Regions from separate parts of the Homo sapiens genome. Here region 1 is linked to region 2. The links are contacts of gene promoters, found by promoter capture Hi-C in blood cells and fetal thymus (Javierre and others, 2016). All regions are on one chromosome and are shown on one strand. The core of a region is centred on a gene start or on the middle of the fragment in contact, and the rest is flanking DNA. Distances in the headings are between cores, read along the strand shown.

Region 1 (3,698 bases), core at 368-2,867, 490 kb after region 2:
GTCGAGCCTTCCAGCGCAGGACTTACTTCAGGGGCCCAGCACCCACTTCCTGCCAGCCAGCTGCTTCCTCCTGTTCCGCCCCTACATTGTGAAACAAATGACGCAGCCGGACTTTAGACAGAAACCCTGCTTATCAGGGAGTCCAGGCAGATGAACTCTGGGTTCTCAATGCCAGGAAAACCCTAGTGTGTATCCACTCTCACAGTATGTGTTCACTCATACTGCTTTCCACAACCGTCACACAATAGTGAAACCTCATCCTCAATTATGTTGGACGCAAGGTCATCCAGGTCTTTCCTGAATCTCTGAAACAGAAACTGGTTTGAGTTTAGAGATCTCCAGGGTCTCTAGTCAAACCTAACAGATGTGATAAACAAGTCTCATTATTATCACATAAAATGTGCATGGCATTTAAATCTATTTTTGGGTGTGGTGGAAACGTGTGTTGCCCATTTATGTGTCCACAGAACAAGTGCAAATTGAACTCAGCTGACTTGGAGGGGGGTGGGATGTATCCTAACAGCCAAGGCCACAATCCCTAGAAACCAATATGGGCCAGGTGTAGTGACTCATACCTGTCATTCAGCATTTTGAAAGGCCAAGGCAAAAGGATCCCTTAAAGCCAAGAATTCAAGACCAGCCTGTACAACAGATGAGACCCTGTCTGTACTAAAAAAATAAAAAATTAGCCAGGTATGGCTCACCACTCACACTTGCCTATAGCCTCAGCTATTCAGGAGGCTAAGACTGGAGGATTGCTTGAACCCAGGAGGTCAAGGCTGCAGTGAGGCCAGGCACGGTGGCTCATGCCTGTAATCCCAGCACTTTGGGAGGCCAAGGCAGGCGGATCACTTGAAGTCAGGAATTCAAGACCAGCTTGGCCAACATGGTGAAACCCTATCTCTACTAAAAATACAAAAATTAGCCGGGCAGCTCACACCTGTAATCCCAGCACTTTGGGAGGCCAATGGGGGCAGATCACAAGGCCAGGAGATCAAGACCATCCTGGCTAACATGGTGAAATCCCATCTCTACTAAAAATACAAAAAAAAAAAAAAATTAGCAGGGAATGGTGGCGGGTGCCTGTAGTCCCAGCTACTTGGGAGGCTGAGGCAGGAGAATGGCGTGAACCCGGGAGGCAGAGCTTGCAGTGAGCCGAGATCACGCCACTGCACTCCAGCCTGGGTAACAGAGCAAGACTCCATCTCAAAAAAAAAAAATTAAATTAAAAAAATATGTACAAAAGGCTGGGCACAGTGGCTCATGCCTGTAATCCCAGCATTTTGGGAGGCCGAGGCAGGCAGATCACGAGGTCAGCAGATCGAGACCATCCTGGCTAACACGGTGAAACCCCGTCTCTACTAAAAAAAATACAAAAAATCAGCCGGAGTGGTGGCGGGCCCCTGTAGTCCCAGCTACTCGGGAGGCTGAGGCAGGAGAATGGCGTGAACCCGCGAGGCGGAGCTTGCAGTGAGCCGAGATTGCTCCAGTGCACTCCAGCCTGGGTGACAGAGCCAGACTCCATCTCAAAAAAAAAAATATATATATATATATATATACACACACACAAAAATTAGCCAAGAATGGTGGTGCACGCTTGTGTCCCAGCTACTCGGGAGGCTGAGGCAGGAGAATCACTTGAACCTGGGAGGCAGAGTCTGCAGTGAGACAAGATCACGCCACTGGACTCCTCCCTGGGCAACACAGCAAGACTTTGTCTCAAAAAAAAAAAAAAAGGCTGCAGTGAGCTATGATCATGCCATTGTACTCCAGCCTGGGCAACAGAGTGAGACCCTGTTTCAAAAACAACAACAACAACAACAAAACTCCATGATATATATATATAAGCAAGATGTAGAATATATGTAGTATGCCTCTTTTTGTGTCAGAAAGGGGAGAAAAAACAAGTATTATTTATATATACTTGTATCTGTAAAATGAAACACTGAAGAGACATTAGAAACTATTGGGGTTTGGGGTGAACAGGAGCAACATGGGAATGAGATACCCCACCCCTTTGATATCATTTTAATTATAAAACCATGTCAATTAACCTATTCTAATTAAATTTTTTTAAAAAAAATCACAGTAGCTCTATCTTGAATCGGAACTGGGCTGGAGACTCCACAAGACATGATCACAAAGGAACTGAAGAGCAACATGGTGAGGTAAAAGTGGTCTGGAGTGGCCAGGTGCAGGGGTTCACGCCTGTAATCCCAGCACTTTGGAAAGCCTAGGCAAGAGGATTACTTGAAGTCAGGAGTTCGAGACCAGCCTGGCCAACATGGTGAAAACCCGTCTCTACTAAAAATACAAAAAATTAGGGGCCGGGCGCGGTGGCTCACGCCTGTAATCCCAGCACTTTTGGAGGCCGTGGCGGGCAGATCATGAGGTCAGGAGATCAAGACCATCCTGGCTAACACAGTGAAACCTCGTCTCAACTAAAAATAGAAAAAATTAGCCAGGCATGGTGGCGGGCGCCTGTAGTCCCAGCTACTCAGGAGGCTGAGGCAGGAGAATGGCATGAACCCGGGAGGTGGAGTTTGCAGTGAGCCGAGATCGTGCCACTGTACTCCAGCCTGGCGACAGAGAGAGACTCTGTCTCAAAAACAAATAAATAAATAAATAATACAAAAAATTAGCCGGGCGTGGTGGCGCGTGCCTGTAGTCCCAGCTGCTGGGGAGGCTAAGGCAGGAGAATCGCTTGAAGCCGGGAGGTGGAGGTTGCAGTGAGCCAAGATCATGCTACTGCATTCCAGCCTGGGTAACAGAATGAGACTCCGTCTCAAAAAAAAAAAAAGTGATCTGGAGCCAGAAGGCAAAGACTAAAGGACACTGAAATTCCACTGCCACTCGTTTCCTAGTTCCAGGTAGAACTAGGAAGTGCCAGTCACCAGTTTCTAGTTTGGAGGGAACAATTCACTCCTGGGAGTAGAGGGAGAGGAAAGGAGGAGTGACTCACCAGTGTGGGGAAAAGCAAGAGAGATCAGATTGTTACTGTGTCTGTGTAGAAAGAAGTAGACATAGGAGACTCCATTTTGTTCTGTACTAAGAAAAATTCTTCTGCCTTGGGATGCTGTTAATCTATGGCCTTACCCCCAACCCCTTGCTCTCTGAAACATGTGCTGTGTCAAACTCAGGGTTAAATGGATTAAGGGTTGTGCAAGATGTGCTTTGTTAAACAAATGCTTGAAGGCAGCATGCTCCTTAAGAGTCATCACCACTCCCTAATCTCAAGTACCCAGGGACAAAAACACTGCGGAAGGCCGCAGGGACCTCTGCCTAGGAAAGCCAGGTATTGTCCAAGGTTTCTCCCCATGTGATAGTCTGAAATATGGCCTCGTGGGAAGGGAAAGACCTGACTGTCCCCCAGCCCAACACCTGTAAAGGGTCTGTGCTGAGGAGGATTAGTATAAGAGGAAGGCATGCCTCTTGCAGTTGAGACAAGAGAAAGGCATCTGTCTCCTGCCCGTCCCTGGGCAATGGAATGTCTCGGTATAAAACCAAGACATTGTACGTTCCATCTACTGAGATAGGGAAAAACCGCCTTAAGGCTGGAGGTGGGACATGCGGGCAGCAATATTGCTTTGTAAAGCATTGAGATGTTTATGTGTATGCATATCTAAAAGCACAGCACTTGATTCTTTACCTTGTCTATGATGCAAAGACCTTTGTTCACGTGTTTGTCTACTGACCCT
Region 2 (4,086 bases), core at 1,332-3,831:
AAAGGAAATGGGATTATTTTTCAATATGGTTTGTCTTTTCCACTAAATTTTCTAAAAGGAGTCAGGATAGTGCCCAACCCACTTCAAAGAATGTAGGCTGGCATGAGTCATTGTTTTTCATGGTTGTTTCAAAGATTAATTTCATTTGCCCCACATTTTTGCAACAGTGGTCTTCTTTCCCTTCCTAAATCACTCCAGGCTCTTTCCTGCATCACGGCTTTTCACACATGATTCCCTCTGCCCTAAAATCTTCTTCATTTGACTTTTCCTGTTTAACTTTTCACACCCTTTAAATATCAGATGAGATGTTACTTTTCCAGGAAGTCCTTTCTTCATCACTCCGTCCAAAGCAGGTCCCCGTGTTTTTCTCTATGAAGGTGCCCTGCTTATTTTTTTTGCTGGCCTCACATTTTCTAATTATGTACACATTTGTGTGAATGTATGACTGTGTGTAAGCTAAGTAGCATAGTGAAGTGGCTATGAGCACAGACTCCGGAGCCAAGCTTCCTGATTTCCAATTCTAGCAGCCACTTCTCTCCTCCTGGGTCTCAGAACACCTGCATCTGCCTCCTGTAAACTCATTCAAATGTGTTTCTCTTTCTATACCCATTTCCCCCATAAATGTGGGGCAGTGAGCAAGTTACTTTAGTGTTCTGTGCCTTCTTTCCCCATCTGTGAAGTGGAGATTGGAGCACTGTATATTTCATAGGGTCATTATAAGAAGTATTCATGGAAATAGGGAGAAGAAGAGGAGTTTTAACACAAGGACATTCAGAATATTTTATTCTAGAGGTGGAAATAATTTTGCAGGGTGGTAAAAATGAAGCAAAAACTCAAGATTCTGCTCCTAGATCAGGAAGTGGCTCTTGAATGAAGGAAAGAATTCTCTCTCTTTCTGCATTTTATATATATTTCCCAAAGTTCTGTTCTCATTCCAGTTTTCTCCTCAGCTTAACATATCTCTATGCCATTGATTTTTAAGTCTCTAGCCTCAGCTCTACCCCTAGTCCTAAGTTCCCAGGATCCTCCACGTAACTTCCTCATGTATAGCACACTGACATCCTAAAATCAGTAGGTCCAAAATTGAACTCACCTTCCTCCTGTGGCTGCTCTCCACCTTCCAATTTTGTCACTTTCTTTGGCTATCCTGTCTGAAATTTCACTGCCGTCTTTACCATATTTCATCTCTCCCTTTCCTTCTTGATTTATTTCTTCCTACCCAATACACTATTTTACTTGTTTATCTTTTTTTACAGTTTGTCTCCTGCTAAAATGTTAACTCCATGAGGGCAGGAATTTTTGCTTGCTTTGTTCATGATGTATTCATGCAAACTAGAAGAGTGCCAAGCATTCAGTAGGTGCTCAATGAATATTTATTCCTTTCTCATTCCAATTACCAATTACTCTACTTAACTCCATATTGATGGGATCTCTTGCTTCAGTCTCTTCTTTCTCTTATGCTGCTGCCACACTTGTTGAACTGTTATTTTTTCTCATAACTATTACAAGAGCTTGTCGCATGCTGGCTAATGAAATTTGGGCAAATTATTTAAATTAAGTTCACCTCAGTTCTTCATTTTAAAATGGAGATATTAATAGTATAAATTCATAGAATTCTCATGAGACTCATAACGTGTGTACAGCACCTGGCACAATACTTGAAATACAATAAGTGCTCAGTGAATGCTTCCTACTTTTATCTGCTACCCTGGGCTAGCTCTGGACTAGATTTCCATTGGTCTCCTGGACTATCTCTGCCTGAATGCTACACTTTGTCTCCCGTGGACCACTTGTAGTTCCCCAAATGTGATATGAATCTTCATCTTCTCCATATAATGGACAGCAGGAAACAAGAAGCCAGCTGGATCAGTTCATTCTTTTCTCACTGCCATATATAATGCATTGCTGGACTAGCTAGCCCTAATTTGCACTAAAGGAGGGGAGAGATGGAAACCTTTTTTTTTGCAATGAGCAAAAGGTGAGAGGGTTATTTTTGGTGTGTTTGGTTGGGCCCAGAAAATTTGGCTCAACTGAATAATAGGTTTTTAATAATTTAGATGAGGATAGTGAGGTTCAGGAAGGATAAGTAACCTCCCTGAGGTTCACAGTACGATAGTAGATACATTGGTATGAGGGCCCATTTTCTTGGTCTTGGTACTCTTTATAACACAAGATGCTGGTCATAAACCACAAACAGTCTTGTCTTCAAAAGCTTATTTCCTCTGCCCCAGCAAATAACTTTCTTACATGCAGACACAATTGAAATTGTTCACCGACAACCATCTCAGGCTTATCGCATCCAAAGTTGAGAGGAGGTAGTAGTATATCAGGTAACACTGCCAGCGTCCCCTTTCCCGCCCCAATCCCTTGGCAGAGAGCCAGACAACTGTATACAGACGATTTAGGTTGAGCAAGCTGCACAAAACCAGGGAGTCACTCAGTGACTACACCGATCTGGATTGACATTTACCTGGGCCAAAGCAGAAGACAAACAGGAGCGATTGGAACAGCCACAACATGCTTTCCGCGGTGAAGACTGGTGCTTGAGACCTTGAGGCAGTCAATGTTTTTGCCCTTCTGTCATAAACTGAAAATACTTCTGAGACTTCCCCTTCCTCTTAGAGGCGTGGTGACAACTTCTTCCCCTGCACTAAAAATCCTAATTTGTAACTGTGTTAATTTTTTGTTTACTTTTTTCTGAGCTAAGTGCACAAATTTTTTTTTTTTTTGGAAAAGAAGATAAAGTCCTTTATTGCATCTTTCATAAACTTATATGTAAAAGTCTGTAAGGAATTTCCTAAAATCTACTAGAACAAATAAATGAGTTCAGCAAGGTGAAAAGATACAAAATCAAAATATAAAATTCAATTGCAATTGTATATACTAGCTATGAGTAATCCAAAAATAAAATTCAAAAAACAATTCCACTCTAATTACATTAGAAAAAAATATTTAAGTATAAAGCTAAGAAAAAGCCAAAAGAAAACTGATTTTTTAAAATTATACTTTAAGTTCTAGGGTACATGTGCACAATGTGCAGGTTTGTTACATATGTATACATATGCCATGTTGGTGTGCTGCACCTATTAACTTGTCATCTACATTAGATATTTCTCCTAATGCTATCCCTCCCCTTGCCCCCCACCCCGTGACATACCCCAGTGTATGATGTTCCCCTACCTGTGTCCATGTGTTCTCATTGTTCAGTTCCCACCTATGAGTGAGAACATGCGTTGTTTGGCTTTCTGTTCTTGTGTTAGTTTGCTGAGAATGATGGTTTCCAGCTTCATCCATGTCCCTGCAAAGGACATGAACTCATCCTTTTTTATGGCTGCATGGTATTCCATGGTATATATATGCCACATTTTCTTTATCCAGTGTATCATTGATGGGCATTTGGGTTGGTTCCAAGTCTTTGCTATTGTGAACAGTGCTGCAATAAACATAAGTGTGCATGTGTCTTTATAGCAGCATGATTTATAATCCTTTGGGTATATAACCAGTAATGGGATTGCTGGGTCAAATGGTATTTCTAGTTCTAGATCCTTGAGGAATCGCCACACTGTATTCCACAATGGTTGAACTAGTTTACACTCCCACCAACAGTGTGAAAACATTCCCATTTCTCTACATCCTCTCCAGCATCTGTTGTTTCCTGATTTTTTAATGATTGCCATTCTAACTGGCATGAGATGGTATCTCATTGTAGTTTTGATTTGCATTTCTCTAATGACCAGTGATGATGAGCTTTTTTCATATGTTTCTTGGCCGCATAAATGTCTTCTTTTGAGAAGTGTCTTCATATCCTTTGCCCACTTTTTGTTGGGGTTTTTTTTTTTTTCTTGTAAATTTGTTTGAGTTCTTTGTAGATTCTGGATATTAGCCTTTTGTCAAATGGATAGACTGCAAAAATTTTCTCCCATTCTGTAGGTTCCCTGTTCACTCTGATGATAGTTTCTTTTGCTGTGCAGAAGCTCTTTAGTTTAATTAGGTCCCATTTGTCAATTTTGGCTTTTGTTGCCATTGATTTTGATGTTTTAGTATTGAAGTCTTTGCCCATGCCTTTGTCCTGAATGGTATTGCCTA

The links. Contacts are between HindIII fragments. The CHiCAGO score rates a contact against its expected background, and 5 or more counts as called.
Region 1: a contact is called between a fragment that was not itself captured here and the fragment with the promoter of SLAMF6 in region 2, in 2 of 17 cell types (activated CD4 T cells and non-activated CD4 T cells). The highest score is 5.4, in activated CD4 T cells.

The regions. Positions count from the first base shown.
Region 1 is chr1:161,013,870-161,017,567 of GRCh38, forward strand. The region is part of intron 1 of F11R (F11 receptor); the gene reads right to left. Among named protein-coding and RNA genes, the nearest start is that of F11R, 5.4 kb to the right of the region's middle. RefSeq lists enhancers at 175-394, 2,036-2,633. The HindIII fragment of the contact is 7,117 bases long and covers 1-3,698 here.
Region 2 is chr1:160,520,674-160,524,759 of GRCh38, forward strand. It overlaps SLAMF6 (SLAM family member 6), which reads right to left and starts at 2,582. Exons shown (of 8, transcript NM_001184714.2): 1 at 2,471-2,582. The coding sequence starts at 2,519. RefSeq lists an enhancer at 2,367-2,416. The HindIII fragment of the contact is 3,138 bases long and covers 2,211-4,086 here.